3 separate regions of the Homo sapiens genome follow, and all the other regions are linked to region 3. Evidence: promoter capture Hi-C in 16 types of primary human blood cells and fetal thymus (Javierre and others, 2016). All regions are on one chromosome and are shown on one strand. Each heading gives the region's core, a stretch centred on a gene start or on the middle of the fragment in contact. The rest is flanking DNA. Distances are from core to core; before and after follow the strand shown. Region 1 overlaps STAG1 (STAG1 cohesin complex component). Region 2 overlaps STAG1 (STAG1 cohesin complex component). Region 3 holds the start of SLC35G2 (solute carrier family 35 member G2).

The links. The method cuts DNA at HindIII sites, captures the fragments that hold promoters and counts their contacts. A CHiCAGO score of 5 or more calls a contact.
Region 1: a fragment that was not itself captured here is called in contact with the fragment with the promoter of SLC35G2 in region 3 in 1 of 17 cell types (monocytes); the score reaches 5.2 in monocytes.
Region 2: a contact is called between a fragment that was not itself captured here and the fragment with the promoter of SLC35G2 in region 3, in 3 of 17 cell types (neutrophils, naive B cells and M1 macrophages). The highest score is 7.1, in neutrophils.

What each region holds. Positions count from the first base shown.
Region 1 is chr3:136,514,493-136,518,121 of GRCh38, reverse strand. All of the region lies in intron 7 of STAG1 (STAG1 cohesin complex component), which reads left to right. Among named protein-coding and RNA genes, the nearest start is that of STAG1, 240 kb to the left of the region's middle. The HindIII fragment of the contact is 2,361 bases long and covers 278-2,638 here.
Region 2 is chr3:136,334,345-136,337,720 of GRCh38, reverse strand. STAG1 (STAG1 cohesin complex component) reads left to right here. Exons shown (of 34, transcript NM_005862.3): 34 at 1-1,485. Among named protein-coding and RNA genes, the nearest start is that of PCCB, 86 kb to the right of the region's middle. The HindIII fragment of the contact is 1,760 bases long and covers 590-2,349 here.
Region 3 is chr3:136,817,758-136,821,293 of GRCh38, reverse strand. It overlaps SLC35G2 (solute carrier family 35 member G2), which reads right to left and starts at 2,168. Exons shown (of 2, transcript NM_025246.3): 1 at 1,666-2,168. RefSeq lists silencers at 971-1,020, 2,084-2,143. The HindIII fragment of the contact is 16,057 bases long and covers 372-3,536 here.

The DNA.
Region 1 (3,629 bases), core at 209-2,708, 300 kb after region 3:
GTGTCCCTGTTGTCAGTGTTTATGCATTGCATTTAATTGTATACTTTTACATTTTTATTAAAAGTTTTTTTTATCATTATATAGTTCTTTATGTCTGTTTATTCCACACTCATAAGTATATTCTTATTTTTCCATTGGAGGTAAACTCTCTTTTTAGAATATATTTTACCATTAAATTGAAAGAGACTGTTAACAATTAAATTTTATATTTTCTTTAATCCCTTCGTTGGAATTTTCAAACATACTGTCCTAGTTATTTGGCCCATTTTAATAAGCTTTACATTGTAGTTTTCATTAACTATTGATCTTCAGAGCTAAGTGCCCTTATTTTTATTTGAAATAGCTATCTCAGTGGGACATAGTAGTACAGTTTGTGGATTTAATTTATGTAAGAAACATTGTGTCATAATTATTTTGGTGGATTTACAATCTGAGACTGGGAACTTTTTTATTTTCAAATTTGATGACATTTTTATTTTTTGAGGGAATATTTTCCTTTTAAGTTCAAAAATAGGTAAGATTTTCTTTGTTTTACCACTTTCTTGTTTGGTATTATGAAGTTAAAATTTTACTCTCAAAGAATTGCTTTTCAGGATTATGTTTATTTTTAGACATTTGCTTTTAAAATGTATACCAATACTTTACAACTTGTTGACTTCAAATTTTTGTTAGAGGGCAACATTCAGGCTGAGTAATGTTGGTTAACGTTTTAATATTTTGTTATTTTCTCACCTACATAATTTTCTGTGATGTTATAAATATATTAATGCTGGCTGCCTCTGACTTCTAAAGTTCTAATTTGAACAAAAGGGAGTTAAAATACAAAATTTGTACTAATAATGACATGAAGATTGTTTCTATTCTCTTTTTTCCCTCCTAAAATGAATTTGGGAAAAAATTAGAAAATGTGGTCAAGATCATCACAAGGCCAGTCTTCATCAGTGCTTATCAATAAGTCACTCTCAGACTCCTGAGGGATAAACATTTCTTTATACCTTATGGTTGATTTTATATTCACATATGATTCATTATTGATTAACTTTTCTTATAGAATCAGCATCTCCAGACTTTTCCTCTGAGGAAGGAAATGACATATGAAATTGCTTTAATTTATGATCAGAGGCTGAAAATAATTTTGCCTCAGAAAATTGAAGTCTTTTTATTTGGCCTTCAGTTGCTGAAATCATGTAATACTGTGGTTGATAGAATGGGTTCTGGCGTGCCTGTCTGAATTCATATTCGTCTCTGTCTTTTACTAGTTGGATAACCTTGGACAAGTCCTTAACATAACTGGTCTTACTCTCTTTATTTGCAAAGTGGGAAAGAAAAGAGATTAGGAGTGCTTGGGACAATGCTTGGCATTTAGTAAGCTGCAGCTATTATTCTATTATTCTTTAATGAGAAAAACGGATAATAGTATTTGCCAATATTTCCCTTCCTTTATGGTTTTACTCAGAATTTATTGATTTGCTTGTTCTATTTTAATAAAAAGTAATAAGACATGACAGATGGGGAAATCATAAATAAACAAGTAGATAAACTTTCAAGAACCGCTGTTAAGAAAACGAACAGCATGCATTTTCTTTTCTTTTGCTTTTTTTTAATGTATGTTTATTTTCTGATTCTCACTCTGTTGCCCAGGCTGCAGTGCAGTGGCATGGTTTTGTTTCCTTGCAACCCCCGCTTCCCAGGCTCAAGCGATCCTTCCACCTCAGCATCCCGAGTAGCTGGGACCACAGGTGCATGCCACCACATCCGGCTAATTTTTTTGTAGTTTTTGTAGAGTTGGGATTTCGCCATGTTGCCCATGGCCTTGAACTCCTGAATTCAAGCAGTTTGCATACCATGGCCTCTAAAAGTGCTGGGATTACAACCACACCCAGCCTGCATTTTCATTTTACTTATCTTTTGGCTCTCAGGACCCATATTCTGTTTATTAAATTCAATAATTATTTTATAATTTTTAACCACACAGATTGTTTCTGGTTTCTATGGTTAAGATGTGAAAATTTTAGAGCAATCTGGTATTATCAAAGAATAGACCATGTAGTATAAATAATTGCTCTTCCTTTTTGTATTTACATTTTATTTTTTTATATTCATTTTTCAAAATTCTTCTAGAGTTTGACCTTTTCATTGCTTTGTACTTTTACTTTGTCTTACTTTACTTTTTCACCGTTGTGTTTTTCATCCCTCCTCCAGATATAAAATCTTTATTCAATTTTCTAGGGTTTGTATATAACAGACTTCTGATGTTCTCGTGGGATTAATGCCCAATAGTTGGTGAAATCTGCAAATACCACTATATCATGTAGTTTTACCCATAAAATAAAGTATAACTTTAAAATGTAATTACTTTTTTGAATCTGTATATTTAGGTCTATAATAACTTGAAATTTTCTAACTTTTTTCTTAGTATTATTGTCTTTTACGTTCTATCATCGGTTCTGAAAATTAGCTTTCTTTTGGCAGCCAGTTTTTGTAAAGAAACAAGGATTTTAAAAATTACTTTATAAGCATTACATATCTTGAATTTATTAACTTGGTGACTTTGGACAAATTATGTAACTCCTGTGCCTTTCTTCGTCTTTATAGCATAGATACTAATAATCCTTTCTCGTGGTAGTATTGGGAAGCTTAAATGAAATAATTTATCTTTTGTTTCCTGAGTCATATAGATGAAATAATTTTTGTTAAATATGTAACATACATAAGTCACTTAGTAATTGTCTAATGTTGTTTGTTGTTGTTGTTTTTGAGATGGAGTCTCACTGTGTTACCCAGGCTGGAGTGCTGTGGCACAATCTTGGCTCCCTGCAACCTCCCCCTCCTGAGTTCAAGTGATTCTCTTGCCTCAGCCTCCCGAGTAGCTGGGACTGCAGGCGTGCACTACCACACCCAGCTAATTTTTGTATTTTTGGGAGAGACGGGGTTTTATCATGTTAGCCAGGCTAGTCTCGAACTCCTCACCTCGGGCAGTCCGCCCACCTTGGCCTCCCAAAGCGCTGAGATTACAGGCCTGAGCAACCATGCCCAGCCCAACGTTGTGATTTTTTTTTTAATTATACTTTAAGTTCTAGGGTACATGTGCACAATGTGCAGGTTTGTTACATAGGTATACATGTGCCATGTTGGTTTGCTGCTTCCATTAGCTCATCATTTACATTAGGTATTTCTCCTAATGCTATCCCTCCCCCTGCCCCCACCCCACGACAGGCCCTGGTGTGTGACGTTCCCCACCCTGTGTCCAAGTGTTCTCAGTGTTCAATTCCCACCTATGAGTGAGAACATGCGGTGTTTGGTTTTCTGTCCTTGTGATAGTTTGCTGAGAATGATGGTTTCCAGCTGCATCCATGCCCCTGCAAAGGACGTGAACTCATCCTTTTTTATGGCTGCATAGTATTCCATGGTGTATATGTGCCACATTTTCTTAATCCAGCCTATTATTGATGGACATTTGGGTTGGTTCCAAGTCTTTACTATTGTGAATATTGTCGCAGTAAATATACGTATGCATGTGTCTTTATAGTAGCATGATTTATAATCCTTTGAGTATATAGCCAGTAATGGGATCGCTGGGTCAAATGATATTTCTAGTTCTAGATAACTGGGGAATCACCACACTGTCT
Region 2 (3,376 bases), core at 220-2,719, 480 kb after region 3:
ACACAAATAATGAAGGAGCAGAACATTGACAAGCTAAGATGAAATTCTGACATAGTACATCTCTGCCAAAAACCACACACCCTCTGTGGATATGGATATGAATTCCCAGATTTTATATACTCTTGAATAAAAGGTTTATTTTTATTTATAAGTGGGCATAAAATAAGAAATGTCCATGCAGCCATTTTTCCAACAGATGCTGTACACCGTTCATTTTATATAGACTAGGGAGATTCAAATACAGTGCATTTTCTATTGGTATTTGTTCTGTGCATTTTTAGCAACTTCTACCAGCAAATAAAGTATTCTCAGTAAAACGAAAATGATTCTCAAGTTATCAGTTTGCTGTTTTTACCACTTATTTCATGCCCTGCCAAATTCAAGTTACACAGACTTCCATTTTCTTAAGATAATCAATCATGAAGAAATCCTTTATCAATCATTCAAAAGTAATTTTAAGTGTAACATAACTGTGTTTACTTCCCATGCACTTAATACCCTTATGCGCTAATTTTGTGAATTAAGTTTACTGATTATAGAAGTATGTGCTGCATAGAAGTCTGTGCTTAGAGGGTGAAGTTCCTAAGCTTACCTTGAATTACAGCTACATTTCAGTGTTAAATGTGCATATTAAGAATAATTCTTTTGGGGAAAGAAATTATGAATCTTCAGGACAGTCTACAATGGTTTAGAGTTACATTCTGCCTAGACTTTTATGACTTGCTGCTATTGTTTTAAAAACCCCACTTAGTCTCTCTCTTCCTTTCTGATTTCTAAAGTAAGCCTCAGAATTTCCAAACCAATTCATCCACAGCTGTTTCTGGGCTGGTTTTTAAAGTAGCTGCAACAGAATCATGAGGCTTTCCCTTTTTATCAAATACGAAAAACATTTTTTAAAATTCTGCACACCCAGTGATCATCTTTTGTGCGGGAAAGCAAGATGATGATGGATGATTTTATTCATCCTTTTAGTAAAGACACAAAACATTTTTCTCAACATTTGTACAGTTCTGAAAAAAACCTGGTCACCAAAAATATCTTCTCTGCTAATTCAGCAATTCTTGGGCTCCAGTTAGGGGAGCTGGGGCCTCACTTTCTCCCAGAATTGTGGGCTTCACTGGAAGTGAAGGTGCAGGAATGACTGGACTGTCCACCCCAGCCCTGCCTGCCTGTGGTTTTGGCCAGGGAGCAAGCCATGAGGTGCCCTGGCACATGCACAAATTGATCCTTTGCGTGACAGTCTTGTATGGAAAACAGATGCTGACAGAATTGTAGACTACCATGCCACACAAAAAGGCTAAATATCTACTCCAATGGGTTTCCAGTTCAGTTTGAAGTCAATCAAATTTTTGTATTTTCGGTGTCTCCTTGATTGGTTTTGCTAGTAATTCTGTAAATTGTACATTTGCAATATGAGGTTTTTTTTCCTTTTGTACAATTTGAAACTGATGCTTCACCTTTCCTTTAATAAACTATTCAAAATCAGGCTTGTGGTAGTCATCCTATTGTTTCTACCAGGTATGGCTTTAAAGAGATGATTTTCTGTCCTGTGGCTCTTGAGAGAGTTTGCAATTTCTGATAATCTGTTAAATGGCAGCAAGTTAACCTTATTAGTGAGTTGGTGGTTTTGTTGTTTTGGCTTTTTAATTTTTTTTAAGAAAGCAGAATTTAGGAATAGCTCACTTTCTTTCATTCCTTAGATTTCTCTGGAGTGTGTGTAGGCCAAGTCATCTGTGGTTTAAGAGGGAGTCTCTTGCAAACTGAGTTTTGCATGAGGCATTCAGGGAACACCCATCCACTGGCCTGTAGCATGGGTCCTCACGGCTTGAGACTCTGGGCTTACATGCATAATTGCACCCTGGCAGTGCCCTTTTGAAGACCACATAGAGTCAATGCAGCTACAGAAATGAAGTTTTCAGCCAGGCATGGTGGCTCACGCCTGTAATCCCAGCACTTTGGAAGGCCAAGGTGAGTGGATCACTTGAGCTCAAGAGTTCGAGACCAGCCTGGGTAGCATGGTAAAACTCCTCTACAAAAAATACAAAAATTAGCTGCGTATGATGGCGCACACCAGCTACTCGTGAGGCTAAGGTAGGAGGATGGCTTGAGCCCACAAGGTGGAGGTTGTTGCAGTGAGCCAAGATTGCACCACTACTGCACTCCAATCTAGGTAACAGAGCCAGACTGTCTTAAAAAGTTTCTCTTGGCATTAGACCTCCTCACTCTTTCTTTAAGAAGTCATACCCTACACACTTCATGGGTCTGGCAATAGGGGGTGAGTTCCTTAAATGGCCTAATATGCCTATGCAAAAAAGGCAAAGGTGTGGGAGACAAATCAGCAAGCAAGCTTTCCAGACAGCCAAGGAAGGAAGGTCATTTAAGGATGGTCTGTAACAGCTCATCTAGATGGTTACAAGAGTATGAGACTAGATGAGCACTTTCAGGCTTGGGTCAGGCTTGCAAATCTCCCATTTGTGGCTTGACTGTAACTCCCTGTTTGCCCCTGTTCCCAGGTAACAGTCCATCAAGCAGGGACTAGTATATTCATGGGAAACAAAGGTTTGATGCCACTCAGGCTTGCCTTTTTTTTTTCGGGGGGGGGGGGGGGGCGGTAAGTGAAGACAGGGTCTCGGTCTGTCACCCAGGCTGGAGTACAATGGTGTGATCTCAGCTCACAGCAACCTCCGCCTCTGGGGTTCAAGAGATTCTCCTGCCTCAGGCTCTCAAGTAGCTGGAATTACAGGCACCCACCACCACGCCCAGCTAAGTTTTGTATTTTTAGTAGAGACAGGCTTTCACCATGTTGCCCAGGCCGGTCATGAACTGAGCTCAAGCAATCCACCTGCCTTGGCCTCCCAAAGTGCTGGGATTACAGGGCATGGGCCATCGCACCCAGCCTTAGGCTTTTCATACTAGACCAAGCTCAGGTAAGATTCTATCCCTGCCCTTCTGAGTGTCTTGTTCTGTGGAGATCTCCATCAGGCACCACTTTTTGAAGAGCATCTTTCTGCTCCCAAGGACACATAAAGGGAGTATTTTCACCACCCAGGACAGTAGGGACATGGTCAAAACTTAACTAACTATTGAGGCTGCCACATTGGCTGGAATATGCCAGCTGGATTCCACAGAGGCCCCAGACTGAGGCACTGCCTATCAAGTGGCTGCAACTCCTGCTTGGAATTGTAGAAATCCCATGCTGACATCAGAGGTGCACAGAGTATGAGGACCAATACTTCTAAAAGGGTAAAGTCATAGCTCTCCAGAAATCCTTTGGAACCAGAAAGACAAAACAGTCACATCTGTTGAATAGGTGAAGAGGGCTGATTCATCAACTCCACATGTGGGTGAGTATCCTTCACAGACTTCTTTGGCTGAG
Region 3 (3,536 bases), core at 919-3,418:
AGTTTTATGATGAAAGACATTAATTATAAATTATATAGCAAAAACGCAACCAATAGAGGATTGGTCCATTTAAAATGTATGCATGTTCATCTAAATGAAAATCTGTTTACAATGGTTTTCTATGTTTATGCATTTCTCTATTACCTAAAATTCTTATAATGAGCATATATTTTTTAAGGAAAAAACAATACCAATGTTTTTGAAAAATACAAATGTAAACTTTAAGAACTTCACACAAACCACATACCACCAATATATTTAAAATTGTCTGCATTATGATACATTTTAGTCATATGTTAAGATTATAAATTTCTATGATTATTTATATGTTGTTCTTATTAAAATTTACATTAATTCATTTTCCTTAAGCTTTCTTTAAGGAATTTTTTTGGTATCAATATCAATTTTACATCTTCCTAGACTTTTGTTCTGGAATGTAAATGAGTATAAATACTTAATTGCTCAGCCAAATACCAAACACTTCAATCCACAGGCTCTGTGCCTTTGGAACAGATGATTATGAAAATAAATGGCTCTGCAGAGTTCACATTTACTAGAAGTGTCAAAAAATAAAGATGGATTACAAAAGCTCTAAAAAATGTGTGGCTTGTAGTGTGTAATGGTTTTCAAAAGGGATGAGTGTATTTGCATGTGTGTTAGGTTTGTGCGTAAATGCACATACCTGTATCTTTCATAAGTATATGTGAGAATTCCTGTTTACGCTCATGGTGTGTACTTTCTCATAGGTAATAAAATCTGTTATGCATATGCTTATCTGTACCTCCAAGGCAAGCCACATTTGCTTTCGGGTTATGTTCAGGAAACCAGCCTCAACTTGTCTGAAAAGAGTTTCAGTGTTGGGCCTGCTCCACTCTGGCCACCAGCCATGGAGATGGGCTATTTTTGGCAAAGGTGCAGAGTAGAAGGGCAACGCAGGCCGCGGCCCAGGAAGTCAGTCGACGAGGGCGCGCGAGGCACTTCAGCACCACGGACATAGGCAAGCCTGAGCCAAGTCCTTTCCCGCGGAGGAAGATCGCTCCTCCGGAGCTACCCCCAGCCCTCTGGACCTACCCCCAGCCCTCTGGACCCACCCCCAGCACTCTGGACGTGGGGGGTTACTATCTCCAGGTCCTCGATCAACACTCGGACCCGAGCTTTCCGCCTCGCTCCTCGCGGAGCCGGGTGAAAGAAAACCTGGCCCGAGATGCAGGTCCGCGCTGAGCCTTCATCCGCCGCAACACGAGTCTCTTTCCTGCCGGCCCGCGCGACCCTTCTTCCCTCTCCTCCTCTCAAATGAGGCCAAATGGGTGCACGTGGCGTAGAAATTCTACAGCGCCCAGAGCACTGTGAGGAAAGATTCGCCTTTTCCTCCCCGTGGCTGCTGGAGGCTGTGCGGACTTGCCCTGAGCCTTCTCCGCCACTCTCGGCCGTGACGAGGCCCTTCCTCCACTAACCCTTGCCCTCGTCTTCCCTTGGGAAAAGATGTCTACAAACCGTCGATGTACCACGAAAATCTCAGCGCCCACAGACTGGCGTTCAAGAGTCATGGACATGAGACAAGAGAGTAATGGAAAATACAAATTCTTGGCCATATTTCTAAAATCATCCAGCCTTTTTTAAAACTTGTATTTGAAATTGATCCCATATGACGCCACAGTGACTCACCCCTTGCTTGGGTTGGCTACTGGGCGAGAGGAAAGCAACAGCCCCTGGCCTTCATCATGGACGCTGCAGGAGGGCCCAGACACGCGACAGCGGAAAGAAACGGGAAACCGGGCCGTAGCCGATGCTGGCCCTCCCGTCCCCGTGTCCCGGTTCTCCAGGAGGGCAGCACAGAGAAATGCGGGCCCCGCGGCCTTTCAGGCGTCGTGCAGAGCACCCCGAAGTCTGCAAAGCGGGCGGGGCGCGTCGCCCCCAGCCCGGCCCTTACCCAAAAAGACTGTTGTGCCCCTTAGGTGTGGCGGCTAAACGCGGGTGTGTGGAGTTCGGGGTCCGCTCTCATTCCCTTGTCGGGCGGCCGGGCAGGCAGGATCAAGGTCCCAGTCCGCCGCCGCCGACCGGCTCCCGGGGCCCGGTTACCTGCGTGTCGTGGCGAGGAAGGTGCCCCGGAGGCGACTGACGCGGGCGTGCCCTCGCCTGGGAAAATCGAGGCGGGCGCTGCCCGGAGTACTGCGGAGGGAGAGGGGCGCCGCCGCGCGGACTCTGCGCCTGCGCTCTCCGCCCTCCGCCGCCCCCACCCCACAACCTGACTGGCGCCGGAGTTGGAGACTGCGGGGGACGCTCAGGGTTGTGCCTGAACTGAAGGACTTCCTCTACCCGCGAGGTGGGAGGGTCCACGGGAAAGCGCCCGCCCGGGCCCCTCTAGCTTACGCCCTTGGAGGGCGCTTGTTTGAAGCAATTGCCTGTCTGCCAGGGCTACGTAGTCCGCTGCAAGTGGGCACGGAGGCAGTTTCTGTCCATTTCCACCCATTGTTTGCGCTTAAAAGTCGCAAGTCTATTCCTTCATGTTTAAATATGTGTCCAGCATCGGAAAATCGTGGTCCGGAAAAGTCTTCGGGCATCCCCGAGTCCACCCGCCATTTTACTGATAAGGTCTCTGAGGGAAGGGTCTTGACACTGCACAGCTGGTTCTTCTACCCAAGTGCATATGCCCCAGTCCCAAGTGGAATGAATATAGCCTCTTGGAAACAGACTGGTCATTAAAAGCAGTGGATTTGATGGGTCCAGGGGACAGGCAAGAAAGGGTAAGGGCTGAACCAAGGTGCTGGCTGTGGGAAAAAACAGGAGGTGCTTGCTGGTTTTTCCTCTGTCCCTTCAGACCCACTCTCCACTCTGCTCTGTGACTCAGGACTGACCTTTATGGGCTACGTCAACTATAATCTGGCTTTCAATTGGTTTTGGCAAGTGGGAGGCACCTGCAGATCAGAAGGCAGGATGTGATTCAGGACCTCCCCTGCATCCCCAGCGGGCCACCCTGTTAGCAGTGGCTATGTTCTTCATCTGAAAGCCATTACTCCCATCCTGTGGCCCTCTCCTGCAGTTTTCTCCAGGTTCTGGTTACCACTAACTACCCTTGCCCCTTCAGGCCTGGAGTGGGTAATGACGCCCAGAGGTTTCCTTTAACCCCATCCACACCTTTTTAAATAGTCCCTTCATTAAACTCTCCTCAACTATCCCATCTTTTCCCCACCTTTCCAGGACGCTATAATAGATTTTAGTCCATTGCGGTTGGCAAAATTCATGAGGACAAAAATATATGTAAAAGAAATACGGGGCTTTTAAAAGGCGAGAAGTCTTCCAGAGCCATCTTGACAGTTCCCTGGGCTCCAGGCAGCCAGCATGCTAGGTGGTCTCCCCACTGGGCCCCATAGCCCGAGGGTGCTAGTTTAGGTAGACCCAAGAATGGAATTCAGACTGCTCATAAACAGTGTGATCACCAAAGGGCTGGGGATCATTTCAGAGTCCAGCATAACAGGATTTTGGATTCCTCTTGAGGTAGAGAGACAATCTAGATCTTTATAGAGCAAGTGCTGGTG